Linked DNA regions of Homo sapiens: all the other regions are linked to region 6. The links are contacts of gene promoters, found by promoter capture Hi-C in blood cells and fetal thymus (Javierre and others, 2016). All regions are on one chromosome and are shown on one strand. The core of a region is centred on a gene start or on the middle of the fragment in contact, and the rest is flanking DNA. Distances in the headings are between cores, read along the strand shown.

Region 1 (3,033 bases), core at 183-2,682, 280 kb before region 6:
CCCCTGCAATATCATGAAGAATTATACCTTCTCTCAATGTAATACACATGCCTTGCATGGTAACAGTAGTCATTTCAGGTAAATTAATTATTCCATTGCATGGCCAAGTGCGGTATAATCCCAGCACTTCGGGAGGCCGCAGTGGGTGGATCACTTGAGGCCAGAAGTTTGAGACCAGCATGGCCAACATGGTGAAACTCCGTCTCTACTAAAAATACAAGAAAATTAGCCAGCCATGGTGGTGCGTGCCTGTAATCTCAGCTACTCGAGAGGCTGAGGCACGAGAATCATTTGAACCCAGGAGGCAGAAGTTGCAGTGAGCCAATATCACACCACAGCACTCCAGCACAGGTGACAGAGCGAGACTCCGTTTCAAAGAAAAAAAAGAAAAAAAATTATTCCATTCCAGTAAACTAGAATATATAATCAATGTGGAAATTTTTGATTCCTTTCAAAATGTGTACACAAATGCTGATACTCCAGTCACACTTTTTACACTTTACTTTTTTTCACTTAAAAACACTGTACATTATGGCAATTGCTCCAAGTCAGTGTATATAGAATTGCTGTCTGCACAGTATTCCATTATTTGGAGAAACCACTGATACATCTAACCAATTTCTTACTGAGGGATGTTTATTATGTTGCCTGTTCTTGCTATGGCAAACCACGCTTCAAAGACTATTCTTTTCCATATTATTTTATACATGAATGAGTATATCTGCAGGCTAACTTCTTAACAGCCCTCCAGCAGCGATTCACACCCTTCTCTCACATGGAAATCACGCAGGCATCTGAGAAATACTAATGGCTGGGTTCCACCTCAAAGATTCAGATTGTCGCCTGGGCATTGGGAACTTTAAAGGTCTTCAGGTGATGCTAAGGGTTGAAAACCTTTGCCTTCAAGAGCCATCAGCTGCCCAGGTCCTGGCTCTGCCAAGAAGGATCTGTGTATCTCTGCCCTGCAAAAGCCAGGGAGCTCCCTCACTGAACTGTTGTCCACCTGACAAGTAAGAACCCGTGTGTCGTGGTAATTTTTTTTTTTGAGGCAGAGTCTCACTCTGTCACCCAGGCTGGAGTGCAGTGGTATGATCTCGTCTCACTGCAACCTCCGCCTCCTGGGTTCAAGCGATTGTCCTGCCTTAGCCTCTTGAGTAGCTGGGACTACAGGCACGTGCCACCATGCCTGGCTAATTTTTCTATTTTTATTTTAGTAGAGACGGGGTTTTGCCATGTTGGCCAGGCTGGTCTCAAACTCCTGACCTCTGGTGATCTAGCCACCTCAGCCTCCTGAAGTGTTGGGATTACAGACGTGAGCCACTGTGCCCGGCTGTGTCATGGTAATTCTAAATTGCATTTCTCTTATGACAAATGCAGTTGAAAATATTATATGTCTAAGACCATTCACACTTGCTTTTTTTGTGAGCTATTTCTTATTTGGGTCATTATACTGTTGTTCTTTCTCTTTATAAATTAAAGAAATTAGCTCCTTGTGGAAGGAAGTTTTGTTTGTTCATTTTTGTTTCATTTGTCATTGTCTTAACTTTTTTTGTGACATTTTTCTCTATGAGAAATAGTTTTATGTTATCAAGTTTATCAAAAAGTCCTGGCTTCTGAGTTGTGCATCAGACTGAGAAAGATCCTCCTTAGTCTGAGATTATTAGTATTTTTTTAATTTTATGACTTCTTCTAGAATTTTAAAGGTTTCATTTTTGACATTTAAACTTTTACTCATCGAAAACTGTGACATTTATTTTGGCATCAGTTGTGTGGTATGGATCCAACTTTATTATTTTTTCTAGATGCTCAAACACCATAAACTGAATTATTAATCCTCTCATTGATTTGAAATGCTACTTTCATCATATACTAAATTACTATATATACCAGTTCCATACTATTTTTTATTATATTAGAGAACAATGATAGAAATTTGTAATATGTTATAATAAATTATCCCTTATTACTCTTGCTTTTTAGAAATGTTCTGGTTTTTATGCTTTATAGTTTTCATTATTAATTTTAGAACCAGCTTTTCTAGTTCCAGAACAATCCTATTGTATTTTTATGGGGGATTATGTTGAATTCACTTAATTAGAACTGAGCACACATTCCATCATGGCCCACCTCCCGCTGACTTCTACCCTCATTTCTGTTTTCCCCCTTTTACTGAAAATTCCAGCTCTAACAGTATCCTTGAAGTTCTACAGACACATCATGTTCCATCTTTATCTTTCAATCAGCTGAGAGGCTTGGAGATAGGCTCACGGAACCCTCCCCTCTCCCAGCACCCTTCCCAGGTCGATGCCTACCCTCCCACTATCAGCTTAGATCTTCTCAGAAGACTTGGCAATTCCCCAAGGGCACCCTAACACATTGTGTTGCAACTGCCCGTTCACTGGTGTGAGAGAGGAAGGTCAAAATGTGCGTGCTCAGACTCAGGGGCAAAAAAATCATCAAGTGAAACTTTTTCTGTAAAGGACCTCATGTTATTTTAAAATTCTCATGTCACCTACAAATGGGTGGAAGAAAACCCTTGAAATTGCTATCCCGTGTATCACTTTTAATTTAAAAAATCTTGAAAATATTTAGTCAATTCAAAGCTCCATCTCCCTTCAGAGCTGCCTCTGGTCTCTCAGGGTTCTTCTCTTCAGGATCTCCTTGTCTCCCACAAGGCATCTGAGCCTAGGAGCACTTTGTGGTTGTAGCAAAAGGGGTCTCTGTTCTGAATCCTGCCTCTTCTGGGCATCCTTTGTTGTCCCTTGAGGTGTGGCTGGTGCCTTCTGCATGGTTTGAGCCTTGTGCTGGGGCTCAGTGCTGACTGTGCCCACACAATGCCCTTTGTGAGGTTTCTGCTCTCTGTGGCCTTCTTGTCCCAACCTCAGGCCTCCACATGTGACTTCTGCACCTCATCTCTGGGATGGTTTCAGTGGGTCCTAGATTGCTTTCTGTGCTCCCTGGGACAGTTGGTGGCACTCTGTGAGACTACTCTGAGGTACCCTTACAAGCTACTCTTAATTTTCCCCGCTGTTC
Region 2 (3,426 bases), core at 90-2,589, 450 kb before region 6:
TGACTGTTCTTCTGCAGAAACATCAGCTTCAAATCATGATTTTTATCATTATACACGCCAGCTCAAAAGCCTACCAAGAATGCCTACTCGCTAGTCCTCCCTATTAAAAATGACTCTGTGATTTTGTTAGGCACTACTCTAGCTCACCAAGCTAATTTTTACTCAATAATACAGTTTGTTCTACCATTGCAAATTTGCAGTTTTATATCTATGGTTTGCTTTCTTCTATTATGTGAGGGTACTATGTAACATTTTTACAGCATTTTGGTTTGCACCATAATTGTATATCACATGAAAAGATTTAGTTCCCATCTATGTAACATTCTGTGTGTAATTAGACTGCCATCTATGGAAGACAATAGATTATTTTCATTTCTGTTTTACTTGCTTCTTTTTATTTCCTGCTCAGTAAATAATTGTCTTGAACTCTTGAGAACCAAGCCATTTTAGAAAGTTACTTTCTAAATGAAGGTTAACTATTAAACTTTTAATATATTTCTTAATGTAAATCTTTAATATAAAATGTTCTATGTAATTCTTCACTTTAGAATATATGATATTTGCTTATTCAACATTTGGGTTTGTGAACACATAGGCTCACATCATCATGCTATCTCCTTCTACTAGAAGCTGAAAATTCTAAAGACTCCATCTCCCAGACTCTCTTGCAGCTAGGATTTCATGATTCTACCCTTCCACCAAACAAACATACACTTGTTTGGTGGAAGTAAGCACTGCAAAGTGGAAACTCTGTAGCTCTTGTGGTTACTAAGGTGGTGGAGGCATTTATTTCTTCGATGATGGAATGTTCTAGTATCTAGTCCCTAGTTTCATGGGCACCAAGCACCTGACTAGGGGACATAGTTGTTTTCTCTGGAACACTCTTCCACTGTGTTTGTTTCTCCTGGCTAAGGAAAGCTTGGTTTGCTTGCCTCTTCCAGATATTCTATAAACTACACAAGATCCTGTAAGAAACCTATTACTACCAGCAAGTAGATTCTGTTTTCCATAATCAAAATCTTGATCAATATGGCTAGTAAATTAACATGGCATTATTACCACTGATCTCTGTCACTTTCTTCCATCAGTTTCTCCTTTCTTTTCTGTTATTTTCTCTATTTGCCTTATAAGGAAAATGACTGGCCTTTGTGAATACTATCATCAGATAATATCGTTATTTTCATGAGTTTAATAATCACTGGCTCTTCTTAGCTGCCTTCCCTTTATGCTACCTTCTTCAATTCCAAGTCTAGATTTACTGTAGGTCTACTAACAAGGATGTGCGGTCCAACATTAATTCTTGGTCATACATTTAAATAATAGAGAAGGAATATGTATATATTGAAGAGATGACTAGGCATTTTATCTGCATTCTAATTAAAAATCGTAATCTCAATAAATATTAAGTAAAAATGGGAAGTGATACAAAATTAAGAACATACATACATACTATATATACACATACATACATATATATACACATACATATATATATATATATATATGTTGATCACAACAAGAGGAGTAAAAACATAATATTATACAATTTGAGAGAAGCCTGGCCAGGCATAGTGGCTCATGCCTGTAACCCAGGCACTTTGGCAGGCCAAGGCAGAAGAACAGCTTGAGGCCAGGAATTCAAGACCAGCCTGGGCAACATAGTAAGACACGTGTCTCTACAAAACCTAAAAATGAAAAAAAATGAGCTGCGCTCGGCAGTGCCTATAGTCCCAGTCAGGAGAGTGGGGTAGGAAGCTTGCCTGAGCCCAGGAGGTCAAGGCTGCAGTGAACTATGACTACACCACTGTACTCCAGTCTGGGCAACAGAGCAAGACCCCATCTCAAAAAAAAAAAAAGAGAAAGAAAGAGAAGCCTGACGTGTAAAGAGAGACGAGGGAGAAAATTTCCAAGTAAACCTGTGACCTAAAATTAAAGAGTTTGTGTCCTAAGAAAAACAGGTCAACATAAATTCCTGTATTTCCTTTATGTCCCCAGTGCCAGTCTCTATCAGGAGAAGAGAATACAGAAAGGGAGACTAGAGATAGCAAAGCATAAAGAAGCAATATTGAATTTTTTCCTATCTTGAAAAATAAGGGGAGAATAGACAACCAGTGTACACGAGGCAACTGAAGGGGGCTTGGAAGGGAAGGAATCACATGAAGAGAAGCAAAGGATGCACCAAAGAATACACTGGAAACATTGCCAATGTGGCAATTCCATATCACCTGCAACAATATGTGGACGAGTAGAGGGTAACTTTTACCAACATATTTTAAATTTCTAAGATTACATTAAGCCATGGGTATTATAAAGGAAACCACTCATACATTCTGCCATGTGCGTTGGTTTTTAAATTGTGCTCTTCAAAGTCCTAAGGTTCTTTGGAAATGTCTCAGATACAATGCCTTCTTTCACCGACAATCAGAGGAGCTCAGGTTTTACATATTGCACTTCCATGACTTGAAAAAAGGGTTTGGCTGTTTAAAAACTATTGAAAATCACAAAGCTAAGCACATTGCTCCTGCTGCAAGAGTTTGGTCATTACTGATGGCAGACATGCATGCTTAAGTTGTGATGTAAGGTATCCATTATTTTATCTCATCGACAACCCTTTACAATTCTCTCCTTTGAAACCAGGTAATCTGAAAGAGGCATATAATATAGTGGTGAAAAGCACAAACTCTGTAGTCAGAGTGCCTGGGTTTGAATCCCACATGCTAGTCATTTCTTAGCTCAACAATCTTGGGCAAATTACTGCATCTGCAAAATGAAGTAATAACAGTATCTACATCAAAGAGCTGTTGTAAAGATTAAGTGAGATAACACATGTATACGGCTTAGAGGGCCACAAACATGGTAACTGCAATCTAAGTATTAATTACAGTATTATTAATATCACAATTAATATTATGATATAATGGTATCACATGATATAATATTATGATATAATATTAACAGATGTATATATCTAATGTGCATGGTTCATATTTTTGTTTTTTACTTCATAGGTCATTTTGCTTTTCTTATTCTCAAAGAAAAATTCATGTTCAACAAAGGTATTTTTCTCATTTTAGGATTTTTACCTTCCAAGTTTTTGCCCTTCTCCACTAAAAGCCTTGAACCTCAATCTAGGTTTTATGTATTCTTGATCCTGATGATCCTCCATATCCAAATTCACTTGGCCACCATGAACAAGGCGCTGAAGCTCCAGGGGAATCTCTCTTTTAAAAAGGGGGGAAAAAAGTTATCATTAAGTTTTCCAAGAATTAAACTACACTGTTGAGATTACTGTAATTATTTCATGAGCTACACTGGAAAACAGAATTTTTTGCTTAAATTATAACACAAAAATTTCCATAATGACTGATCAGTCCTTGTAGATCTTTTTTAAAGTCACTTCACATTACTCCTTACTGGTTCTCAACA
Region 3 (3,370 bases), core at 52-2,551, 330 kb before region 6:
CATAGTATTCCATGGTGTATATGTGCCACATTTTCTTAATCCAGTCTATCATTGTTGGACATTTGGCTTGGTTCCAAGTCTTTGCTATTGTGAATAATGCCGCAATAAACATACGTGTGCATGTGTCTTTATAGCAGCATGATTTATAGTCCTTTGGGTATATACCCAGTAATGGGATGGCTGGGTCAAATGGTATTTCTAGTTCTAGATCCCTGAGGAATCGCCACACTGACTTCCACAATGGTTGAACTAGTTTACAGTCCCACCAACAGTGTAAAAGTGTTCCTATTTCTCCACATCCTCTCCAGCACCTGTTGTTTCCTGACTTTTTAATGATTGCCATTCTAACTGGTGTGAGATGATATCTCATTGTGGTTTTGATTTGCATTTCTCTGATGGCCAGTGATGGTGAGCATAAAACAAAACTTAAATACAGTATTTTTCCAAGAAAAAAACAGTTGACAAGATAAATCTATAAAACATTATAAATATCAAAGTAATAACTTTTGTTCTGTTTTATTTCTTGGCTCCTATATATGATTAATAATTAACTTTTATACTAAATATAATTTCCTGTATCAAGCCATTATGAAATGACAGTCTTTTTCTTCCTTCCTTCCAGGTTTGATAATAGAACTTCAGTCAGAGGCAGCTTTAAACATCTACTCACATAAGTATTCAATTAAATGGATGCTGTGACACAAGTTACATGGTACTATAAGACAACTAGATTTTATGTAGGTCAGAATTGATAAGAATCTTGGATTACCAAATCAATATCTGTTGTAGATTTTACCTTCTAGGATCAGTAATGGAATACATTGGCTTCCCAGAGTTTCCAATGAAGGTTGTAACCAGCTGTTCTGGTTAATTATGTCCTTTTTATGTCTAAGAGAGATAGGATGCTAAAGCTTTAACCTCAAATTAATTTTTGCACCTTTCCAATCACACCAGGACAAAAGGTTGAATTTTATGCAAATTTAGTGCATCGGTATACTAGATCAAACATATTTTCATATCGTTTGAAATGCAGATTTGCCGGACTTTTACTTTACAGCTCTCTTTTTATATGAGGCTTTTAACTGCACACTCTCCTTGGTTCATTTCTCATATGTGCTTTTGGGTCAATTACAACCCTGCCTCACTGCTTGCCTTGTTCTCTGGCAGCAAGATAAACACTGAACAGAGCCTTTTATCTTTGCAGGGCCTCTCCAGATACAGCACTAGAATGACTTTTCTCTCTTCAATGTATTATTTATGGGATTTTAAGTTATTCTTTCTTCGGTGTGAAACCAAAACTTTCTTGTGCACTGCAGCAGATGCGGCAGTAAGTACACATGATTACCCATCTTCCTGTGATTTAGTCTGTGGTACTTCCTTTGGCTAACCACTTTCAGCTGTTATTTTCTGCAGCTAGCATGATGAACTTGGGTTTACAGAACCTTGAGACTGAGGAAAATTTTAAACTCAGGCATATTGAAGGGTGACAACTTTTTTGGACAGAGGCTGTTTATGGTAACAACAATTACAGATCTATTTCCACTTGCATACGATTGCTCATGCTGCCTTCTGCTTTCTGGTGAATGTTCCCTAGATGGTGCTTCTCACGACTGTCCATCACCCAACTTCCTCAGAGTCATCCTGGGTGTTTGGTCCACACCCTGCACCAGGTCTTTGGGGTTGAAGCTTGGAATTTGCATTTTAAACAAGCATCCAAAGTGGTTCCCATGCATACAAAAGTTTCAGAACCAGTTCCTTGAGGGGAGATTTTTTTTTTTTTGAGACGGAGTCTCGCTCTGTTGCCCAGGTTGGAGTACAGTGGCCCAATCTTGGCTCACTGCAAGCTCCGTCTCCTGGGTTCATGCCATTCTCCTGCCTCAGCCTCCCGAGTAGCTGGGACTACAGGCATCTGACACCATACCCAGCTAAGTTTTTGTATTTTTTAGTAGAGACAGGGTCACCGTGTTAGCCAGGATGGTCTCAATCTCCTGACCTCGTGATCTGCCCACCTCAGCCTCCCAAAGTGCTGGGATTACAGGTGTGCGCCACCACGCCCGGCCGAGGGGAGATATTTTAAGATCCAAATTGGCAAAATATTTAGTAATTAAATCTATGATCTGATGAATTCATATATTAGATGATTTAGCATTAAATTTCACTAGAACTTTGCATATATACCTATTTTACTTTGTTGCAGTAAAGTTTTTTGCAGCCTGGGCCAAAGATTTCAATTTGAATTAGCAGCCACACCATTTCCCTACTTTTAAAATGGATGTAGCAAAGCCACCTTTATGGTGCAGGTCCTTCCTTTTAGGATCATCCGTTTTCTGGACCAAATTATTATTGTATTTGTTGCAAGTGGTCATGGCATTGTCTCTCTTGGATCTGAGACTGATGATGTCTCCTGGGCTTCTTGTAACTTTCTGCAGATATTCTTGCTTATATTGAAATAATAAATAGGATCTTCCAATGGATGTTCTGATTCCCTGATATGACAAAGGAATTGCTTTGGACATTTAGCAGGCTCCACACTGCTTCCTGGCTTACTTTCTAGACAGTGCAGGGTCAGAAGCCTAAATTGGCCACTCACTTTCTAGTTGGTCTCCTTACTGGTGCTCTTACTCCCAACAATCATTTTCAGTGTAGCAACAAGAGTGTTCCTTAAAAGTATGATTCCAATCATGCCATTTCCTTGCTCAATACCCCCTAATAACTTCCCATAGCAGATGCTCTGTTGCACTGACCAGATGTCTTTAGGGCTGAAGCACCAGTTTTTCCAGATACCCATTTTTGGGGCTGAAGCACTAATTCTTCCAGATGATAGGACTGTTGACAGTCTTCTGCTAAGTCTTTCTTTAGGACCTGCCTCTCTTGAAGAGAGTTGTCTCACCCATGGTTTCCTTCATGGCAGCTCACACCTATTGATGGTCGATGCAAGTATATATGGCCTGCAGTGAATTGGATGTTCTAACTTCAGAGCTCCCAGAGGGAGAGGCTGTGTCACAGTTCAACTTCTTCCTCTGCTAAATCTTGCTTCCTTCACACTTCTGTAGGTATAGATGCCTGAGATCCCGTCTCAAAAACTCCCTGCCCATACATTTTCACCTCATTGTCTGTCCCAGGGAACCTAGCCGGCAACACTTCATCTCACCCAGAAGAGATCCAGACTCCTTCCTTGAGTGGCCTGGGCCTGCTTCCTCCTCCCTCTCTTCTCTCCATGAACTTCATTACAGCAACTCGGGTTTTTCTGCTGTTCCTCAAATATTCCAAGTTTGATCCTGCCTCAAGGTTTTGCACTTCCCTCTGCCTGGAACAGAATCCTTGCCCAGAACTCTGCAGGACTTGCCTCCTTATCTCCATTCCAACACAA
Region 4 (2,944 bases), core at 9-2,508, 500 kb after region 6:
TAGAATTATCTCAATGCAGTAAGTATACAGAACAGGATCTCCGACTTCAATAAAACTGGAGACATTTGTTACTTCAAACTATAATATGTAAAGCAAGTAAAGAAGTAGAAACTGAGTTAGCAGTGTGCAAAAAAAAAAAAAAGGAAATGTAAGTCTTGCAGAGAGGAAGACTGTTATAAAACAAATAATTAAACTCATGAAATTTGTTTAGTCTTGGGAATTGGAAGCACATATACCATGGAAGGTGGAGTGAAGCAAGGGCTGGAAACGGCAATTGGTTGAAATTCTATGTGAGGGTTGGTTTTTTTCCCACCCCAGTCTGCACAGTCAGCAAGGAGAACCAAGTGATACATGGACAGCGGGAGGAAAAAAATCAATAAAAAATTCAACAATATTTGATCCAAAGGTATTATAGCAGAAGAAAGAGAATACAGAACATTGGAAAGAAAATTTCCAGTGAAATAATTAAAGAAAATTACCAACATTGAAAGTATGACTGACTCATGAAATTTTAGAACACTGGGGATAAATAAAACTCTGAGTGTTGATAGAGAGAATAATAAATAAATACCACAAAATGAGCTTTGGAAATAAGAAAGACGTTCAACTTCTTAGTAGAATATTGGATGCTAGTAGATGATTGAGTCATATCATTAAATTCTTAGTGAAAATAATTTTCAAACTAAAATTGCTACTCACCTGTGAATGAAGCTGAGCTATCAGACCAGCAATGTGTAAAACATTGAACCTCTCATCCTCCTGTTCCTTTTCTCAGGAATCTACCAGGGCATATGCTCTCTCACTGACCTGATCAAATAAAAACAAGGTAAAATGAGAACAGCCTGGTGTTCAGGAGCTGAAGAATAAACACCGAGCAGAAAGCGAGGGGGCCCGCAGGGCACTGGAATGACAGACTCTAGCATCACTGTGCGGTGGCCCAGAGCACTGACACTCAGGCTTTCTGTGGAGAAGGAACCATTTTTGTTTTGTTTTATTTTCCATCCCACCAGAGGCAGATACTTTTGTAAGACAATAAAAATAAATTTTGAGAAAATCGTCTTGATTTAGGGTAATGAGACAATATCAATTGCTATAAAAATTTCTAAAACTTAATTTCTGTACTGATTTTATTATGGTTGGGGGCAAACAGTCCTCTCACTGGAACTGGCATGAACATATTACTGAAAATATGAAAGTCAGTGCCAGGAAACCCATAGGTAAAGCGATGCCACTGGGGATAGGATGGAGAGTAAGAAAGGGCTGGCAGGAATGAGGCAGGGGCCACATGTATTTTTCGTATATGACGTTTGTCCCATTAAATGTCAGCTATGAACATGTATTTTGCCAAAATTAAAATTAAAAAAGAAAAAGACTACAAATAGGAGGGAAATATGCTGGGGTAGTGGGAAATAGGTCAAGCTGCTTGAATGGCAAGGCAAGCTGCAGAAACTGATGAAAGTCAGAAAGAGCTACAACTTGGAGGAAGGCCTATGGGTAGTGGGTTGTGTGTGACTAGGGTTGAAAATCCAGGAAGATAAGAGAAAAAATTTAATCACTAATTTTTTCAACAAAGATTTAGGGAATGTCTACTACAGGCTAGGCACTAGGAAACAGAATGGGGGAAAATATTCTTGCTCTTTGGGATTTGTCTCTTTTGGAGATACTTCCATTTATGTCCATTGCTTTTTTGCTCATTTTTCCATCAGGTTACAATTTCATCAGGTTGTAATTCTGGAGATTACAACCCAGTTGTGGGAGTCTGACTATAAACAGGTAAGTAAGTAAATGATGTCTATGTTAAGTGCTACTAAAGGAAGATGGGGTAGAACCATGATTCTGTACGCAAGTGATGCTATAGCTTTGCACCCACAGCCAGAGAGTTTTACCTCTCTTTCTATGAAGCCTAAGAAGGAAAGAGGTTCCGGGAAGGTATAGGAAACATGTTTTTATGAAATGGGCATGCTTGGTTTAGTACTCCAGCTTCAGGACCTCAGCTGCAACTGATATCATAAATTGAAGTCAAGGGAGTCTTTAAAGTTTAGCCTCTTATAATCCAGCAGGACAGAGTTCCTGCGTCACACACACAAAATCAATATTTTCAGTGTAAAATCTGATGAGAATATCATCACTGAGAGTAGATGAGAAAGGAACTGAAGATGCCCCTAGATGGCAGGCTTGCCCAGGAAACCAAGGAAAAAAAGGTAGCCATGACGTCTGGAGGGGACTTTCGGAGCCAGATCACTGCTTTATCCCCCTTTCTCTTCCAGCAGTTTTGGAAAGGAAGAGATAGAGATTGTGCAGAAGAGAGAGGTAGAGATTATTTTTTGATCACTCAATTTGTGACAGCCACTGTCGGGCACTCTGCATAGATTTTCTCATTTAATCTCGCAGCCCTTTAGACTGGTATTATTTCCTTCAGTTCAGAAGTAAGTAAACTAACAATAAAATGGTAAGTGACTAGGTGAGGAAAAATATCCAACATCTGAAAACAAGAACTCAAACCCAGGTCTGTATGTATCTGGCATGGGAACGGAGGAGGTGAGACTTCCTTGATCAGGAAGGAGGCAGAGGCTCTGGGCTGAGGAGAAAGGTGAAGAACTTGAAGGGAGAAAGGTCATGAATCTCTGAAAGGTGCTCTGAGATCTGAACTCACTCATTATTTTTTCTCCATAAAGTCTTGTAACATGAGTTCTAGCAGGTTATATGACAGTGTTGGTGGATGAAGACGATAGAAGGGCAGGGATATTCATTTGCTGGGGCGCCATAGCAAAGTGCCACAGACTAAGTGGCTTAAAACTAGAGATTTATTTTATCATAGTTCTGGAGGTTAAACATCCAAGATGAAAGCATTGGCAAGGTTGTTTCTTTCTGAGGGCTTTCTCCTTGGCTTCTAGATGTCCATTTTCTCCCTGTGTCTTCACATGGTCTTCCCTCTGAAGGTCTA
Region 5 (2,959 bases), core at 212-2,711, 260 kb before region 6:
ATATTGTGCTGATAGAAAGGCAGAATTCTGAAACTATATTTAGAATCCTCCACTCTTAAAATCTTTTTCCCAAGTATCAATTCTTTTCTGTTTATACCTCCTAAAGACTCTCTGTCTGTTTTTTCCTATAGGTCACTGAGAGGCTGACCCAAGGACAAAAGTTTTTTTTTTCTTTTTTCAAAAAAAACATGTATCCTTTACCTCTTATTGGCTGAGAGGATAGCTTTTTGATTGGCCTTTCAAGCTTCTTGATCCATTAGGAATAAAATCTTCAATATGTATAAGGGAAGTGCTAGGACTTGGTGATAAAATAATGCAAGTGAGTGAAGGTCTTGAGTCAGCAATCAGAAGGGCCCTCCTTCTGGGTACAGGCTGAAAATGTAGGAGTTGGGAGTTCTGATACTATCTATCTATGATTGACCTTTGCAGCTGGTGGACCAAATAGATCTGGGAAAGACATTCTTCTCAGACAACTCTCTGCACAATCACTGTAACTTGCTGTGGTCTGTGATCAAACTTTAGGCAAACAGTAGACAATGGAAATGACTGCAGACGTGATCACATGGTCTTTGTGGGTTACAGAAACAGAAGGAGGCTGCTATTTGATTAAGAACTGTAGAAATCTAGCTGCAACCACAAATGCTAACAGTAGCAGGTGAAAGATATTAGCAAAGCATGCATGAATTTGAATAAGATATGGTCGGGAGATGGAACTTAAGCATTAACACAAAGCCTTCCTTATTCCTTCTGGCATCTCCATTTGGGTCAGTTTAGGACTGTGCCAATTTTTCTCAATGGAGCTTTTTAGGATCGCACAAAATTTTCAGTTCGAACAACAAAATCAGTGGTTGTAATTTACCATTTTCAAGGTCACCTATAGAAGGTATTTACTTTCTTCTTTTACTTGAAGTAGGCTCTGTATCCCTGTAAGCAGTTTCATAAGATTTGTCACATTTAATTAGCATTTAGAGTTGAGTTTTAGAAAAATAACAAAAAGATTTTGAAAAGATTACCTTCATTAAAAGTAATATATTAAAAATATATTGTAGAGACATTTTCAAATGGTAAATTTTCAGGTTCAGTCAGAAGCTTGTTTTCCCACAACAAGGAAAAACGGTATTATCGTCATGTGTAAGTGTGGCCCTTTTGTCTTAAAAGACACCAAAACAATTCTGTGTCTACTGCTCTAGTGTGGAGCCCATTAAATTCTCTTTCCAATGTTTTCTAGAAGGCTTTGTTTGAATCTATGTTTATATCTAACTAAGCTGTGGTCTCACATATCATTAGTCTTTTATTGACAATATCAGGCTTCAGGAAAAGTGATCACTCATCACATACACAGTACAACAGCTTAACTGAGGCTGACATAGGAAATATGCAAGGAAACTAGTTCAAGTACAGACAAGCCCATGCCTGTTCTATTAATGGGTGACATTTTAAACAATAGAGCTGTCAAACCCTACTTCGAATAAAGGGGCTTAATCATGGCAGGAATTAGTGCACACGACAGGTGATTATGTGTTGGAATTATGCCAGAACAGGACCAGCTGCAATGCTTCGAATTATTTGTAATCTCAGTAATTACAGCTTTGGGAAAAAAATTATTTGGGATTGGAGAACCCAGAATTGGTGAGAGAAGTAAACAAAAACTACATACAACGTTTTTATTTCCACAATAGAGGTCTCTACAAATGGGAAAAGTTCAACCCACATTATAAATTTAAGTCCATCCCTCTTCTCTGCAATTCAACACCACAGCAATATAATCATGCCTTTTTTTTCCCTTTCTCAAAGTCCAATTATAGTGTCTCCTTGCAAATAAAATAAGCTTTCAGCCATCTACTTACTAATTTGAGCTGAGAATTTTTTCTAAAATTATTTAGGCTGCAATATCTAAAGCCTCTCAGGAAAACATGAGAACCAGCTGGAAAGGCATTTTCCCATGTTCCCACTATTTTGCTATGATAAATACTGTATTTGATTACCTTCTGTTGAAGTTTATAAAAAGAGATCATTCTTTAATGCTGAGGCCATTTGCGGAGAGTGATCCAGTTGGAACCAGTGATTTCGAGAATTCCAGACGTGAGAGACTGGAAAGCAAATCAGAAAAAAGACAAGTGACGAAGTTTTACAGTCAGGAAACAAAATTCTGATCTTTTGTTCTTGTTTACTTTCTATGGCAATGAAGCAGAATGCAAAAATCGGATCTGTCTTAGTTGTTGACCTCTAATTTTATCTACTCATTGTTTTTCAATGGAAATAAAACCTAAGTCCTCCTATTTTCTTTATATCCATATGGTTATTACCACAAAATGTAATCTTGGCACCATAGATTTTTTTTTACACTTTTTTTTGTAACTTTTAATTTAGCAATAGTTTTAAACTTTCAGACATGTTGCAAAAATCGTGTTAGGAAATCACTTATCCCTTTACTCATATTCACCAGTTGTTTATATTTTGTCCCATTGATTTATTATTCTCTTACTAAATATTTATGTATACATATTTTCTGAACCTCTTGAGAGTAATGTAGAGACATTGGGCCCTTTTATTGCTAAATACTTCAGTGTATTTCTTAAGAACAAGGACATTATCTTACATAACCACAGTACAGTTTTCAAAATTGGGAAATTTAACATAGACACATTACCATTAGTCAAGTCACAGAGAAATTTTGCCAGTTATCCCAGAGTGGTGCTTTATAGCTAATTTTATTTTTTCATGCTGAATTGAATCCAGTATTACAATTATACTTTGCTGCCAGGCTGATTTAGCAACCTTTAACCCAAAACACTCCCCAAACTTAAAAGAATCTTTATGAACATTGCCAGTTTGAAGGAGAATTGGGTATTTATTTTACAGAATGTTCCTCATTTTGGGCATGGCTATTTCCTCATGATTAGATTCTTGTTATGTGTATTGTCAGGTATGCGGTGTGTCAGGCACACTGACGTGACAC
Region 6 (3,007 bases), core at 194-2,693:
AAGAAAATGGAAGTCCTACTATCCATACTGCAAAAATGCTTATTCTACTATCATATTCCCTTTTGAGAAATAGACCAGTTACGCCAGAAGTGCAATGTTGTCACAGATGTGTGCCAGATTTTGCAGAGGACATAAGTTGGCTGTGAGGAAGAACACAGAGGTTGCCTATTTTTTAGGCAGGAAAGAAAGCCTGCACTTTTCTGTGTGTGTGTGTCAATAAATCTGAATAACAACTTGAAAGGGTTAAAAAGCTGAGCACCAGGTGTTTTCTTTCCACTTTCCAGAGTAATTTAAGCACACTGCAAAGTTATCTCCCTTCCTTCCCCACGAGCCAGCTTAAGGGAGACCTGTCACTGCCATTTACACTGTACAGCTCCAGCTCTAAACAATAGGAGGGCACCAGGCTGGGCAGCAGGCATCGCGGCTTCCCACAGCCTGTATGGGCTTTGTTGCCAAGTTATGAGCTCCGCTGGGTGATGGAGACACGAGTGAGCCAAGGAGAATTTAATTCTATTTCAAATCTGTATGCTTTCAAAGAAAATAGAGACAATTGAGGCCACGGGAGGAGCTGGAGGGGGTAACCAAAAACAAACTTTCGGAACCTCAGAATCTACATTTCTAGCAGTAATTCTCAGCAAAGGATTAGGTGGTATTGATACTCTCATAAAGTATTTAACACCGAGATTAGAGACCATTCAGGAGCGGTGGCCGAGCGGAGTCCCCATCCTTCGTAGTCCCACTCCTCCAGCAGCAACCGGCGGCGCGCTTTCGGAGCCCACCTCCGCTCCGCAGCGCGGCCAGCTTCCCCCCGCCCTGGCTCCAACCCCGGCTCCAGCCCCGGCCCCGTGCCCAGCCTCCTAGCCGAGCCCGGGACGTGCAGCCAAGCCGAGCGCAGAGGGGGCGCGGGGCAGGCAGCGGCGCTGCGCCTCCCCCGGCAGCCCAGAAAGCCGGACGGGGTCCGCCTGGGCCAGTGAGGCCGGGCTCAACGGAGACCCGGGCCGGGCGGGGAAGCTGCAGGCGCAGAGCCGGCTTAGCTCCGCGCCGCCTGGCCGCGCGCAGCTCCCGCATTGTCCGCAGTCGGGGCGCGGCGCGACCACTGAACCCGAATCCCAACCCCCGCCCAGCAGTCTCTCTCCCGGCCCCCACGGCCCAGTCTTACCTGGGCCGCTCACCCCAGTCCCTGGCGGTGCGGCCCGAGCCGGGAGCCAGGCTCCGGGGGACTGCAAGGAGGGAGAGTCGGGGCCCGCGAGGGACGAAGGGCCGAGAGCGGGCTGTAGGGGCCGCCGAGTGTTCACGGTCGCCGCCGCGGGGCCGCGGGTAGAGAGCAGACGGGGCTGGCGGAACGGGCCCAGGACGCGCGGCCGCGAAGGGCCCGGCTGGCGGCGGCCGCGATGGTTCGGTCTGCACCGAGTGGGAGGGCTCAGGCAGGCTTCGCCGGAGAGTGAGGGAGGGAACTTGGAGCCAGTTGCTGTGGCCGAGAGCGCGTGTCCCTGAGCCAGTGTACACGCCCCTCGTACACCCCGCCCCGCCTCCATCCCGCCCCCACCCCACCTTCCGGGTCCCCACCCTTCTCGCACCTCCACTCCAAGCCCTGCCTCTCTCTCAACATCTCCACCCCGCTACTGATGCCCATCCCACCCCATCCCTGACCCACCCCCCATTCCACTCGGTCGGCGCCTCCATTTCCTCCCTATCCCCCACTCCCACCTATGTCCGCACGCAAGCACCCCCACCCTGCTCCCACCCGGTGATACCGCTGGATCTCGGACTGCCACCCCAGTGCAGATCGCTCAGCACTGGAGACGTAGAGCCTGTGCCCTGAATGAGATAACCCCACCTGGTAGTCCAGCCATCCAAACGTCTTGGTGCTTGACATTTTCTGTTTACTAACTTTCATATACTCAGATGGAGCGTCCTAGCTTAATTTCTGAAGGCATTTTTAAGACTTCAAAAAAATGTTTGGAGAAAATAGTAAATAACGAAAAATATCAAGCATGATGTACTACCTCTGAAATGTGGGCCAGCTGATGTTTTAAAATGAAATGCTTTGGGGTGCGTCATTATTAATCGCCTAATATAGTATTTGAGAATACTTTCTGCTTAGATTTGCTTAATAACTTGGTTGTTTCAGGAGAGGATTTGTTTTAGGAAGACTAAACACATTGTAATTTAATTTTGCTATTGGGAAGTCTAAAAGATAAAATCCATCTTTATCAAAATGAATTTGAATGGGATATGGACTCACAAAATAATTGTTTCTTCTAGAAAATATTGAGCAAGGATTTCTTTTTAATCTCTGGTACATTAACAATACGATTTCACTCATCTCATTTTCTCAGAAAGATCGTTTATATTTGAATTGTGCTTCAATTCAATGAATCTATTGTTTCATAATAGTTAAGAAGTTGCCAACTAAATAAAACTCAGACTTTATAATAATATATTTTTTTTCTATTTAAAGATTACCATTTTAAGAAAGTGACATGATACTGGGATTTAAATGGAACTTTCCTTTGGCATACTAATACATTCCTTGTTATCACAGATTACGTTGTGGTCTCCATTAACTCCAAAAGTCATATAACAATAGAAATAAACTATTTTTCATCATTCCCATAGCAAATGGAACCAACTTCTCTCCCTCTCAAGTATACTTTTTTTCCCCACTTCTTTGCCCCAATCCCTTCCTTTTAGGAATTTCCCCCTCCCATTGGGTGTGACTAGCCCACAGAGCTTCCTGACATTGTGAGGGATATGACCCAGGCCAGCCAATTAGAATATCGTCTGAGAACAAAGGAGGAGGGTCCTTTCCCTGACTGACAGGGCAGCTCCTGGGACCATATCATATATGCGTGCAGCAGCTGGAGTCAACTTACTGGAGAATAAAACAAAACCAGAAAAAAAGCCAAACTGAGCAATGGAGACAGAAAAGTGCCCTGATGACATCAATGGCCATCCGAAGACAGTCACCTCTAAAACCAGTCAAATCCTGAACTTCTGAAGTAAT

The links. Contacts are between HindIII fragments. The CHiCAGO score rates a contact against its expected background, and 5 or more counts as called.
Region 1: a contact is called between a fragment that was not itself captured here and the fragment with the promoter of FAM110B in region 6, in 2 of 17 cell types (M2 macrophages and monocytes). The highest score is 7.1, in M2 macrophages.
Region 2: a contact is called between a fragment that was not itself captured here and the fragment with the promoter of FAM110B in region 6, in 1 of 17 cell types (monocytes). The highest score is 5.4, in monocytes.
Region 3: a fragment that was not itself captured here is called in contact with the fragment with the promoter of FAM110B in region 6 in 4 of 17 cell types (M1 macrophages, monocytes, M2 macrophages and 1 more); the score reaches 6.6 in M1 macrophages.
Region 4: a fragment that was not itself captured here is called in contact with the fragment with the promoter of FAM110B in region 6 in 1 of 17 cell types (M2 macrophages); the score reaches 5.5 in M2 macrophages.
Region 5: a contact is called between a fragment that was not itself captured here and the fragment with the promoter of FAM110B in region 6, in 1 of 17 cell types (M2 macrophages). The highest score is 7.4, in M2 macrophages.

Annotation. Positions count from the first base shown.
Region 1 is chr8:58,271,966-58,274,998 of GRCh38, reverse strand. LINC03133 (long intergenic non-protein coding RNA 3133) reads left to right here and starts at 2,898. Exons shown (of 8, transcript NR_105005.1): 1 at 2,898-3,033. The HindIII fragment of the contact is 3,834 bases long and covers 1-3,033 here.
Region 2 is chr8:58,439,428-58,442,853 of GRCh38, reverse strand. It overlaps UBXN2B (UBX domain protein 2B), which reads right to left. Exons shown (of 8, transcript NM_001077619.2): 6 at 3,084-3,221. Among named protein-coding and RNA genes, the nearest start is that of UBXN2B, 30 kb to the right of the region's middle. The HindIII fragment of the contact is 837 bases long and covers 921-1,757 here.
Region 3 is chr8:58,319,827-58,323,196 of GRCh38, reverse strand. No RefSeq gene overlaps it. Among named protein-coding and RNA genes, the nearest start is that of LINC03133, 49 kb to the right of the region's middle. RefSeq lists an enhancer at 1,151-1,300. The HindIII fragment of the contact is 775 bases long and covers 914-1,688 here.
Region 4 is chr8:57,490,731-57,493,674 of GRCh38, reverse strand. It overlaps LOC105375855 (a long non-coding RNA gene), which reads right to left. Exons shown (of 3, transcript XR_928920.3): 2 at 700-807. Among named protein-coding and RNA genes, the nearest start is that of LINC00588, 210 kb to the right of the region's middle. The HindIII fragment of the contact is 3,767 bases long and covers 1-2,944 here.
Region 5 is chr8:58,255,018-58,257,976 of GRCh38, reverse strand. LINC03133 (long intergenic non-protein coding RNA 3133) reads left to right here. Exons shown (of 8, transcript NR_105005.1): 6 at 132-190; 7 at 809-883; 8 at 1,884-2,206. Among named protein-coding and RNA genes, the nearest start is that of LINC03133, 16 kb to the left of the region's middle. RefSeq lists an enhancer at 415-2,326. The HindIII fragment of the contact is 739 bases long and covers 1,092-1,830 here.
Region 6 is chr8:57,992,959-57,995,965 of GRCh38, reverse strand. FAM110B (family with sequence similarity 110 member B) reads right to left here and starts at 1,443. Exons shown (of 4, transcript NM_001377989.1): 1 at 1,160-1,443. RefSeq lists an enhancer at 492-992 and silencers at 997-1,046, 1,067-1,116. The HindIII fragment of the contact is 13,337 bases long and covers 1-3,007 here.